Linked DNA regions of Homo sapiens: regions 1 and 3 are each linked to region 2. The links are contacts of gene promoters, found by promoter capture Hi-C in human tissues and cell types (Jung and others, 2019). All regions are on one chromosome and are shown on one strand. The core of a region is centred on a gene start or on the middle of the fragment in contact, and the rest is flanking DNA. Distances in the headings are between cores, read along the strand shown. Region 1 has its middle 10 kb from the start of STX11. Region 2 holds the start of UTRN (utrophin). Region 3 overlaps LOC105378036 (a long non-coding RNA gene).

Region 1 (4,220 bases), core at 345-2,844, 140 kb after region 2:
GCAAATGACATGATTTCATTCTTTTATGGCGGAATAGTATTCCATTGTGTTTATATACCACATTTTCTTTATCCCATAAATGTAAATTTACAAAGTAAAATCAAGTTAATTGTTAAAGTTTTAAATATTTCAATATATAATAAGTTAAAGTTTTAAATATTTCAGTATGTAATAAGCATATCTTAAATTACTTCTAGATATGTGATGAAATCTGCAAAGGTTTCAGTACTGCAAACAAGTCATCATTACTCACATACAAGACAACACAGTTTTTATCCCTTGAAGCTTGTTTTAAATGTACAATTTTTAGCAAACATGAGATCATTAAAAAATATAAACCTAATAATGCTGATACCAATATTAAAGATAACCAATACTATTGTTTGGTTACAATGTGCTAAGCACCATATTCACATCGTCGTATATTATTTAATTTCTCATCACAAATTTGTGAAATGTGCACAACTCAACCCTATTTAAGAGAGGAATAGACTGAACCCTATAGCCTCCTGTCCACTGTCCAGGAAACAACAAGCAGAAGACTTCAGACTCAAATACTAGTGTGCAACACAAAAATCCAGGTTCTTCACCATTAATAATTCAAGAACAATGTTAGAGACCACAGAAGAGGCCGGGCGCAGTGGCTCTCGCCTGTAATCCCAGCACTTTAGGAGGCAGAGGTGGGCAGAGTGCTTGAGCCCAGAAGTTCAAAATGAGCTTGGGCAACATGGCAAAACCCCATCTCTACAAAAAAATACAAAGAAATTAGCCAGGTGTGGTGGTTGGTGTCTGTAGTCCCAGCTACTCGGGAGGCTGTGTTGGGAGAATCACCCAAGCCCAGTAATTCGAGGCTGCAGTGAGCCATTATTGCACAAGTGCACTCCAGCCTGGACAATGGAATGAGACCCTGTCTCAAAACAACAACAACAACAACAACAACAACAACAACAACAACAAAACTGAAAATAATGACTTTCCAAAGTAAATGATTTTTTTCATCTTGTTATCTGCACAAAAGGGCAATATGAACTTAAGGTAAGCTTAGAAAAAATACTAAAAAAAGAAAAGAATGCAACAGATAACTCTCACAGAAAAGCAAATTTCTTGTTGTTTACTAAGATCATTTCTTTTTCCAAGCTTGATACGCCAATAGGGGTAGAAAACATGTGGCGAAAAATCGTATTATTTTGGTATTTGTTAAATTGTGGTCCTGCCTATAATTCCTGAATTGACACTATTGCATCTTTACTTTAACCCAAATTTCAATTAAGTAAAAACTTTTCTTTGATATATTTGCTTACTTGTAAGAGGCCTGAAGTTTGATATGTACTGGTTGCTCTAACGTATACAAATAGAACAAAAGTTTTCTGTGAAGGAGAATGGGTTTTTAAAAAATCTGATCTAGAGATAATCTAGTTGATCCACTTAATAGCTCTTTATGGAAACCAATTTTTCTGCAACTGTGATTTTTGCATAACAAGTTGCAAAAGTATTTTAAGATCAGACTGTTACTCAATACTCATTTCTGGTAAACTCCTTTTTGCACCATTGCCTTCGTCTGCAGAACAGATAAAAGTGAAACGGAAAAGCACAAACAGAATATAACACATAAGCCATGCCTTTTACAGATATTAGTTTAGCCACAAGCCTTGAAATACTGGTTTTGAATGTGAATAATTAGTTTTCAACAAGTGTAATTTTCACAGATACATTAAACATTTGTATAGCCATATTCTGTTCATTTAGATGAATTTGTGTCATCTATTTAGAAACTCTATACTTCCATGCCAAGAAGCCTTACTTTGGGGCTGAGATCTGGCTTTCTTCTCTTCTTCCTCCCCTTCATCCATTTCATCCCCTTGAGGCTGCTCCATGTCTTTGTCTTACTTTTCCCTTTGGCACTCTTCAGATGGACCCATTCCTTCTTCACGGATGGTTTATAGTTTCTGTGAGTTCACAGACCACAGCCTGCTAGCAACCTTCCATGACCCTGAAGAAAATTTGAAAGTGCAATACTGGCACCAAAAAAAAACAAGTTGTTTCAAATGATGAATTGGGCCAGGCATGATGGTTCATGCCTGTAATCCCAGCACTTTGGGAGGCCAAGATGGGAGGATCACTTGAGGTCAGGATTTCAAGATCAGCCTGGCCAACACGGCGAAACCCCATCTCTACTAAAAATACAAAAATTAGCCAGGCGTGGTGGCGTGCGCCTGTAGTCCCAGCTATTCAGGAGGCTGAGGCAGGAGAATCGCTTGAACCCAAGAAGCAGAAGTTGCAGTGAGCCAAGATTGTGCCACTGCACTCCAGCCTGGGTGACAGAGTGAGATTCTTTCTCAAAAAATAAATAAATAAATATATATATATATATATATATATATATATATATATATATATATATGTGAATTGACCAAAAATGGCAGAGTAAACAGGTTGAAGTCTGAGCAGTGAACTCACCGATTCAAAGGACAGTCTTTCCTTGAGACATCTGCCTCTGTGGGTGATGATCTTTTTGAGACCTTGCAGAAGCTGACGGATGTTCCTGTCAGTCCCTCGCTCCTTTCCTTGTGTGCCCCAGGTGTGAGGAGTGATCTTTGGTAGGGTCTAACATGGCCTTGCCTCACTCAGGGTGTTGAAAGCAGGCTGCTGTAGCTGATTTCTTTAAACCCTATTTTTCTACAGTTTGGTGATGAAGAAAGGTGAATTATGAAACAGGAACTTTTGCCACAACCCTGTATCCCTAGTCACAAAGAAACATTTACAAAAGTCCACATGCAAACTGGAATTCATAATTGATTACAGTGCGAATGTGGGTGCTAGACTTATTCACACCTATTTCTTCCACAGACCTGGCACAGCATCTCTGCAAATTAATGAGTGGGCCCCTTTTCAAGAAAAAACCGATATGGCACCCAGTGTTGACAAATTATTTCTACCACAGTGTTACTTGAATGTAATATAAACACAGTGTTACTTAAACATAAACAAGCTATAAATTCCTTATGGCTGTAGACCCTTTAAAAAACTATAAAATCCAAACCAATTTGCACATTAAAAGCATAAAATTAATAATAATATTAAAGTAGACTGGGTACAGTGGCTTATGCCTATAATCCTAACACTTTGGGAGGCCAAGATGGGTGGATCTCTTGAGCCCAGGAGTTTGAGACCAGCTTGAGCAAGGCCCCGTCTCTACAAGAAAAAAAAAAAAAAGCAAAAATTAGCCAGGTGTGATGGTGCAAGCCTGTAGTCCCAGCTACTTGGGAGGCTGAGGTGGGAGGATCACCTGAGGTCAAGGCTGCAGTAAGCCATAATTGCACCACCAAACTCCAGCCAGAGCCACAGAATGAGACCAGACTCAGAATAATAATAATAATAAAACAGCATTGATTTAACATTGTTTTGATGAAACAAAACCACGGAAGTTTATTCTAAAAGTAGAAAAGGTCATTTGGGCGTTTTGTATTTCTCTTGTTAGCTATGTGATTCTCTTTATTTTGAATATATTTGAATATGAAAATATCCAAATATTTTGAATACCATTTATTTTGAATATAATAGACATGCATTTGAGGATCTCTCATTATCCCTGTTCTGATTTTCTCTTTTAAACTATACATATGTCCTGAATCGTCAATCCATGGTTCATTAATAAGACATCAATCTAAAATGCTCGCTAAAATAAAAGGCCAAAATATGAATTTAATTTAATGAAAATGTTTTTATTCAATATTTATGATCATATTTAGTCCTAATGAATTTAAATATTGGGTATGATGCATCTCCTTTGAAACACGAATGTGGTGGTAACTCAGGAGGTACAGGTGCTTCACGTTAGGCATGCTTGTGCTGCTAAAGACTGTATGATGACTCAGCTGTCCTATCATTTGCCTTCAGTGCTGCGGATCACCAAGATATCACCTGAGCTTTACTTGGAGCCAGGCTTTGATTTGTTGCCACACATATGTCAACCAGATGTAAATGGTGAGACTGCATACTTATAAAGTGGAGTATGCAGATAATCCTGAATTATAATTTTTTTAGCTTACCATCCAAATTCAATTTTGTAGAACAATTGGACCTCCTGCAAACATCAATAATAGTTCGAAATGCCGGGCAGGTAGTTATGGTTGTGCTATGTGGAAAAGCATGGTATAGAAAAAAGACTGGATTGAATGTCTGAATTCCAGGCCAACCATGGTTTGATCCCAATGCATCTG
Region 2 (3,961 bases), core at 16-2,515:
CCCCGGGCCAAAGCGGGGCATGAATTACCTTGTCAGTTGCAGCAAGAGATCCCCAGAGTCCGGAAAAGGAGAGCCGGCGACTGCGCGGGACTACACACCAATGGGGCGCCCCCCTCCTCCTGTCCCCTCAGTCTCTCCAGGGCCGCTGCCAGGGAGCTTGGCGATCGCGCCACACTCTCCGGAGCCCCACCCTTGGGAGCAGCAACCACCCAGAGGTCAAGCACGTTCCCCGCCGGGCGGCTGGCTGGGAAGCGCTCCGCTGGCCGCCGACCACACAGCCACCCTCTGCCCACCCTCTCCTGTGGACACCGCCGGAGCCCCGCCTTCCCCGGGCCCGGGTGTCTGTGACAGACTCTCCTAAGAGGCCACGTCCCCTCTTGCAAATCACTGGCCCAGCGCCCTGCACCGCGCGATGCACGGAGGGCGACTCTGTCACCCCGGCGGGGAGGAAGATTAGGGGAGCAGGGAGGCAGCACAGAGCTGGTCAGATAAGTTTGGATCGTTCACAACTAGTACGGATCCCAAGGACCTCCACGCCCGAGCTCTCCACGCCTCCGGCATTCTCTCTCGCACCGCGGGGAGCTAAACTGAGGCCCCGAGGAAAGGGCACGCAAAAGTTACTCCCATCTTCGACTCTGGGACTTGGGAAGCAGCTCGGGACGCCGATCCCAGGCGGAAGAACCACAGAAAGAGCCATCCTCCTCCCGGCCCCCGCCCCATTCCCTCGGGGGCTGTAGTCACATTACCAGCCCGAGGCTTCAATAATGCATGGGCTTACCTGCTGCCCGCGGGCCTCCTCGCCTGCCGGTCGCCACCGCCGCACCCCGAGCTGGCCAAGGGCTCCTCTAGGAGTTTGACACGGAGTAACCGCGGGGGTGTGTGCGAGTGTTAGTTTGGTGGTGCGATGTATTTAAAAAAAAAAATAAAGCTTGGAGAAGCAGACACGAACCGAAATTTTAAAAAAAGAAAGAAAGAAAGAGAAATTGACACCCGACTGAAAACGCCCCTTACTTGTGCAATCTTCCTGCCTGGTAGTTCCGCCAAAAACAAAACAGTCAAAGCGCAAACCTGGAAGGGGCGCGCAGGCACCAACTTTGCCAAACGCTACAGAGTTTTCCGTTTGCAGAAATGACCCAAAAGAAGGGGGGCGCCGCTCCCCGTGATTCCCCAATCGGCTTCTGGAGCCAGAGGCTCCTCCTCGCCCCTCGGCGGGAGAAAGCCCGCGGCCGGCTGCTGCTGCCCGCTTCCCTGCTCCGAGGAAAAACGACTCCACAACTTTGTGCGCGAGAGAGGCTCGCTCCTTCGGCGGCTCCTCCTCCTCCTCCCCGCTGCGGGCCTGCCCCTTTGTTGGAGCCGAGCGCTGGAGGCGGAGGAGGGAGGGTGGGGCGCAGGACCGCTGGGTCGCGCGTTGCCGCCCCCACCCCCCGGGAAGGGGCTCGCCTCCGGGCAGCCAGGGGTCCGCTCTCCAGATGAGAAGGGTGCAGATCAGCGCCAGCCCTCCGGCCCGCGCCTCTGCAGCGCTCCGGCTCCCCCTCGGCGCTCTCGCCCCGCCGCCGCCGGCCCAGCAACTTTGTTCCGGAAGATCAGCCCCACTACGTTCCCGGGTCAGCGTCTGCCGGGCCTCGGCGGTCACCGCGGCCACCGCGTCGGGAACTTGGCGCCCCAAGTCACCTGACTGCGCGCCCCGTCAATCAGCGCCGGCCCTGCGCGCCCTCCCAGCCCGCAGCAGCCCGGCTCGGCGCTTGGCTGGCCTGGGGCGCGCGCTCCAGAGTGAACCGTGCGTGCCGGGAGCCGGGAGTCCGGAGACCGAACCAGAATGGATGCCTCGAGCAGACACAATTCCCCTTATTCAGATTATCCGAAAATGTGAGTCACGTCCCCTTAGGCAAAACAGGTCTCTAGTTAGGGTGATATTTTTTTAAGAGATAAATTCCAATCTGCCTTCCAACTCACCCCATCTCAGTTTGCTGACGTTGCTGATTTTTTTTTTACCCCTAGTTCCAACCGTATATTTATTTTACATTATTTCTCTAGTGTCGTTGTTAATATTGAAAAAGAAGTTTTCTCTTACATTAGTTTGTATTACAAGTAGTGTTTGCGCTGACCTTATTTTTCTGTTTTCCAATATGCACACACAAACGCACATCTGTTATAGAGCCTGTTCCAAGCTTGAGAGGTTGACCAAAAAATATCTGGGAAGAAATGAGCTCGTGATGTGTGTGCATTTTTCTTATTTACACATTTCATTGCTCGTGTGTTCCTGTGATTCTTTTACACGATCAGCACACGTGGGAGGGGAAAGAAAACAGCAACCTGAGTTCCTAGTTCGTATTAACAGAGAAAAGGATGGTTGATACTGGAGCGCCGGTTTATTGCTGGCTTAATATTTGAGTTAATTTACGCGGCAGTAAAGATTAAACCACTAGGGGCCTTAAACTAATTTTCAGAAAGAGTTTACTCGCCTTTTGTTATAGTGAAAGTTTCCCCCATCCATCCCTAAGTGCTCCAGGGAGGGGGCAGGTAGGAGATTCCCAAAAGAGACTCTTCCTTGTAAGGTTTCTAGGACAGTTTCCTTCCTTTTGATGATTTTCTACGTATAAGCCAAATAAAATCCAAAGGATTAACTTGAAATGGGTATGATTTTATTCATTCACTTCATTCATTCATTTAACAAGCATCAGTTTAGGGCTGTCAGGTTTGCTGGTTCTGTGGGTAAAGCAAAGATAAATCTGATAGTGATCTTACCCTTAAAGAACTTGGAATGTAGTAGGTGAGATAAGACATGTAAACAAGTAAGTATATACAAGATCCGGGAGATAAATGCCATAAGAAAAGAACAGATCAAGTGCTAGCTGAGTATGGTCACATAGAGGGACTCCAGGATTTTTTCTTTCTTTCTTTCTTTCTTTTTTTTTTTTTTTTGACAGTGTCTCTCTCAGTTGCCCAGGCTGCAGTGCAGTGGCGCGATCTCGCTCACTGCAAGCTCCGCCTCCTGGGTTCACGCCATTCTCCTGCCTCAGCCTCCCTAGTAGCTGGGACTACAGGCGCCCACCACCACGCCCTGCTAATTTTTTGTATTTTTAGTAGAGACGGGGCCTCCCAAAGTGCTGGGATTACAGGCATGAGCCACCGTGCCCAGCCCCCAGGTTTTTTTTAACTGATCATTTTGCAGACACCAAAAGTTGCTTATCACTCACTGTATCCTGGTTGAGTTGATGAAACTCAGATTTTCTCCTTCAAAATAGATAATAAGGCCACATTGGAGTGTTTGATGATGTTGTCACTTAAATTAATATTTGTGACACTTTTCACAATTTACAAAGTAATACATCATTTTAGCTCAAAAATTTTGAAAAACGCACGTTTAGGGTCCTATGATTTCTGGGATTGTAAGCTGTGAGGAGATGTTTAGTCGAGCTTCCTCAACGCCTGTAAGAGATGGAACAGGAGGCCAACAAGCCACCTTCTGTGCAGGAGTGACCTGCCCCGCATATCAGCCATAGTGGCTTACAGCCAGTTACCTGGGGACCTGTGCCCTATCTGTTTCTAGCCCTTCTCTCCAGGCAGAGACTGATGCTCTTTGTAGGTAATGAGCAAAAGAGGCTAAAGAAATTCTTGTTGACTGGGTGCAGTGGCTCACACCTGTGATCCCAGCACTTTGGGAGGTCGAGACAGGTGGATCATCTGAGGTCAGGAGTTCGAGATCAGCCTGGCCAACATGGAGAAACTCTGTCTCTACTAAAAATACAAAAATTAGCTGGGCGTGGTGGCACATGCCTATAATCCCAGCTACTCAGGAGGCTGAGGCATGAGAATCGCTTAAACCCCGGGGCAGACGTTGCAGTGAGCCAAGATGGCGCTACTACACTCCAGCCTGGGTGACAGAGCAAGACTGTCAGAAAGAAAGAAAGAGAGAAAGAGAGAAATAAAGGAGGGAGGGAGGGAAGGAAGAGGAAGGGAG
Region 3 (4,458 bases), core at 916-3,415, 160 kb after region 2:
TCTTTTTACTGAGCTGATTATAATGATCTCATGCACTTTGTATTAACCTCAATTTTATGGGAAAAATTGGAACACCAATCAGAGCTCAGGATCACACATCACTCCAGCTGAATCCTAAGCCAGAAGAAAGTTTAGTGAAATATATGGGTGAAATGAAAATAAACTATCAATCAAGCCAATAGTTTTTCTAGTTGGGATGGACTTCAGGAGATTGTAAGAGCAGTGGCCCCTATTAAATCAAGTGGAGGTGCCAGAGTTGCCAGGCAGAGTGGAGGAAGGGATTGAAAGGCCCACCAAAGTGTACATGCTAAACAGGGTCTACTATGTGAAACTGGAAACTTATCAGCTAAATATGATTCTTGAAAGAGTATGGAGGACTTATGCATCAAGGCAATAAGGAAATTGCTGGTAGAGGACACCAGTGTCATTGAGGTGAGTGGTGGCTCTCCTCTGTAGACCAGAGTTGATGATAAGAGATGCTATTTCAGAACTAGGGTCCCTAGTAGTCATGGAGATGATAGGATTCCAGAGGCCACACAGTAGCATGCTACCACCAACAGTGAACAAGCAAAACCACCCTCAGATTTCTGACCACCAGAAACTCTGTGGGATAATTAAAAGTCCTAGCCAGAGCAATTAGGCAAGAGAAAGAAATAAAAGGCATCCAAATCAGAAAAAAATTGTCTCTGTTTGCAGGCAACGTAATCTTATACACCAAAAACCCTAAAGACACCACCAAGAAAAAGCTGTTGAACTAAAAAAAGTTTCAGTAAATTGCAGGATACAAAATCAATATACAAAAATTAGTAGTGTTTCTACACATTAACAATGAGCTATCTGAAAAAGAAATTAAAAAGACAATCCCATCTACAGTAGCATCAAAAAATAAAATAGGAGTAAATTTAGCCAAGGAGGTGAAAGATCTGTACACTGAAAACTATTAAACACTGATGAAAAAAATTGAAGGAGACACAAATAAATGGAAAGATATCTCACATTCCTGGATTAGAAGAATTAATATAGTTAAAATGTCCATACTACCCAGAGTGAATTACAGATTCAGTGAAATTCCTATCAAAATTCCAATGACATTTTTGAGAGAAATAGAAAAAAACAGTCCTAAAATTCATATGGAACCATGAAAGACCCCAAATAGCCAAAGAAATCCTGGGCAAAAAGAACAAAGCTGGAGGCATCATACTACCTGACTTCAAGATATACTACAAAGCTATAATAATCTAAACATCATGGTACTGGCATAAAAACAGACACTTAGACCAATGGAACAGAATGGAGAGCCCAGAAATAGATTCACACATTTACTCTCAATTGATTTTGGACAAAGATGCCAAGAAAACACAATGAAAAATGAACTGTCTCTTCAGTAAATGGCGTTGGGAAATATGGATACCTACATGCACAAGAATTAAATTAGACCCTTATCTCACACCATATGCAAAACATCAATTCAAAGTGGACTAAGGACTTAAACATATGGCCTGAAACTGTAAAACTACTAGAAGATACCAGAAGACAAAAGCTCCATGACATTGTTCTGGGCAATGATCTTTTGGCTATAACCTCCAAAGCAGGGGCAACAAAAGCAAAAATAGATCAATGAGATTACATCAAACTGAGAAGCTTCTGCACAGCAAAGAAAATATCAACAGTGTGGAGAGACAACCTACAGAATGGAAGAAAATATTTGCACACCATACATTTGATAAGGGGTTAATATGCAAAATATACAAGGAACTCAAACAATAGATGCTAAGAAACACCTCAAACAACTCAATACTAAGAAAACAAATAATCCAATTTAAAAATAGATAAAGGACCTGAACAGTCATTTCTCGTAAAAAAGTCATACACATGGCCAATAGATATATTTTTTAAAAACTCAATATCACTAATCATCATCACATTGAAATCACAATAAGATATCACCTCACATTTCTTAGAATGGCTGTTATCAAAAAAATGAAAGATAGGGAAACCCCCTTTGGGTCCCCTCCCTTTGTATGGGAGCTCTGTTTTCACTCTATTAAATCTTGCAACTGCACACTCTTCTGGTCCGTGTTTGTTACGGCTTGAGCTGAGCTTTCACTCACCATCCACCACTGCTGTTTGCCACTGTCGCAGACCCACCGCTGACTTCCACCCCTCCGGATCCAGCAGGGTTTCCGCTGTGCTTATGATCCAGCGAGACGCCCATTGCCACTCCCAATCTGGCTAAAAGCTTGCCATTGTTCCTGCACGGCTAAGTGCCCAGGTTCATTCTAAGCAAACTGAATAGTAGTTGCTGGGTTCTACGGTTCTCTTCCATAACCCACGGCTTCTAATAGAGCTATAACACTCACCACATGGCCCAAGATTCCATTCCTTGGAATCCGTGAGGCCAAGAACCCCAAGTCAGAGAACAAGAGGCTTGCTGCCATCTTGGAAGCGGCCTGCCACCATCTTGGGAGCTCTAAGAACAAGAACCCCCAGTAACTTTTTGGTGACCATGAAGGGACCTCCAAAGCAATGGGAAACTTTCCCCCCAAGGCAAAAATGCCCCTAAGATGTATTCTGGAGAATTGGGACCAATTTGACCCTCAGACGCTAAGAAAGAAAAAACTTATATTCTTCTGCAGTACCGCCTGGCCAAGATATTCTCTTCAAGGGGGAGAAATCTTGCCTCCTGAGGAAAGTATAAATTATAACACCATCTTACAGCTAGACCTCTTTTGTAGAAAAGAAGGCAAATAGAGTGAAGTGCCATATGTACAAACTTTCTTTTCATTAAGAGACAACTCGCAATTATGTAAAAAGTGTGATTTATGCCCTACAGGAAGCCCTCAGAGTCTACCTCCCTATCCCGGTGTCCCCCTGACTCCTTTCCCAACAAATAAGGACCCCCCTTCAACCCAAACGGTCCAAAAGAAGATAGACAAAGGGGTAAACAATGAACCAAAAAGTGCCAATATTCCCCAATTATGCCCCCTCCAAGTCGTGGGAGGAAGAGAATTCGGCCCAGCCGGAGTGCATGTACCTTTTTCTCTCTCAGATTTGAAGCAAATTAAAATAGACCTAGGTAAATTATCAGATAACCCTGATGGCTATATTGATGTTTTACAAAGGTACGACACTCCTTTGATCTGACATGGAGAGATATAATGTTACTGCTGGATCAGATACTAATCACAAATGAGAGAAGTGCCACCATAACTGCAGCCCGAGAGTTTGGCGATCTCTGATATCTCAGTCAGGTCAATGATAGGATGACAACAGAGGAAAGAACAATTCCCCACAGGCCAGCAGGCAGTTCTCAGTGTAGACCCTGACTGGGACACAGAATCAGAACATGGAGATTGGTGCCGCAGACATTTGTTAACTTGCATGCTAGAAGGACTAAGGAAAACTAGGAAAAAGCCTATAAATTATTCAATAATGTCCACTATAACACAGGGAGAGGAAGAAAATCCTACTGCCTTTCTGGAGAGACTAAGGGAGGCATTGAGGAAGCATACCTCTCTGTCATCTGACTCTATTGAAGGCCAACCTATCTTAAAGGATAAGTTTATCACTCAGTCAGCTGCAAACATTAGGAAAAAACTTCAAAAGTCCGCCTTAGGCCCAGAGCAAAACTTAGAAACCCTATTGAACTTGGCCACCTTGGTTTTTTATAATAGAGATCAGGAGGAGCAGGCAGAACGGGACAAACGGGATTAAAAAAAAGGCCACCGCTTTAGTCATGGCTCTCAGGCAAGAGGACTTTGGAGGCTCTAGAAAAGGGAAAAGCTGGGCAAATCAAATGCCTAATAGGGCTTGCTTCCAGTGTGGTCTACAAGGATGCTTTAAAAAAGATTGTCCAAATAAAAATAAGCCGCCCCCTCATTCATGCCCCTTATGTCAAGGGAATCACTGGAAGGCCCACTGCCCCAGAGGACGAAGGTCCTCTGAGTCAGAAGCCACTAACCAGATGATCCAGCAGCATGACTAAGGGTGGCCGGGGCAAGCGCCAGCCCATGCCATCACCATCACAGATCCCCAGGTATGCTTGACCATTGAGGGCCAGGAGGTTAACTGCCTCCTGGACACTGGCATGGACTTCTCAGTCTTATTCTCCTGTCCCAGACAACTGTCCTCCAGATCTGTCACCATCCGAGGGGTCCTAGGACAGCCAGTCACTAGATACTTCTCCCAGCCACTAAGTTGTGACTGGGGAACTTTACTCTTTTCACATGCTTTTCTAATTATGCCTGAAAGTCCCACTCCCTTGTTAGGGAGAGACATTCTAGCAAAAGCAGGGGCCAATATACACCTGAACATAGGAGAAGGAACACCCGTTTGTTGTCCCCTGCTTGAGGAAGGAATTAATCCTGAAGTCTAGGCAACAGAAGGACAATATGGACGAGCAAAGAATGCCTGTCCTGTTCAAGTTAAACTAAAGGATTCCGCCTCCTTTCCCTACAA

Evidence for each region. Contacts are between HindIII fragments. The study calls those that stand out against the background at their distance.
Region 1: a contact is called between a fragment that was not itself captured here and the fragment with the promoter of UTRN in region 2, in 1 of the 25 tissues and cell types used here (spleen).
Region 3: a contact is called between a fragment that was not itself captured here and the fragment with the promoter of UTRN in region 2, in 2 of the 25 tissues and cell types used here (mesenchymal stem cells and spleen).

What each region holds. Positions count from the first base shown.
Region 1 is chr6:144,138,391-144,142,610 of GRCh38, reverse strand. It overlaps a transcript of STX11 not described here. Among named protein-coding and RNA genes, the nearest start is that of STX11, 10 kb to the left of the region's middle. The HindIII fragment of the contact is 4,534 bases long and covers 1-3,861 here.
Region 2 is chr6:144,282,639-144,286,599 of GRCh38, reverse strand. It overlaps UTRN (utrophin), which reads right to left and starts at 1,265. Exons shown (of 75, transcript NM_007124.3): 1 at 779-1,265. It overlaps LOC124901418, which reads right to left and starts at 102. Exons shown (of 1, transcript XM_047419641.1): 1 at 1-102. RefSeq lists silencers at 1,326-1,425, 1,636-1,695 and an enhancer at 1,826-1,895. The HindIII fragment of the contact is 2,482 bases long and covers 1-1,548 here.
Region 3 is chr6:144,119,099-144,123,556 of GRCh38, reverse strand. The region is part of intron 3 of LOC105378036 (a long non-coding RNA gene); the gene reads right to left. Among named protein-coding and RNA genes, the nearest start is that of SF3B5, 26 kb to the right of the region's middle. The HindIII fragment of the contact is 3,257 bases long and covers 537-3,793 here.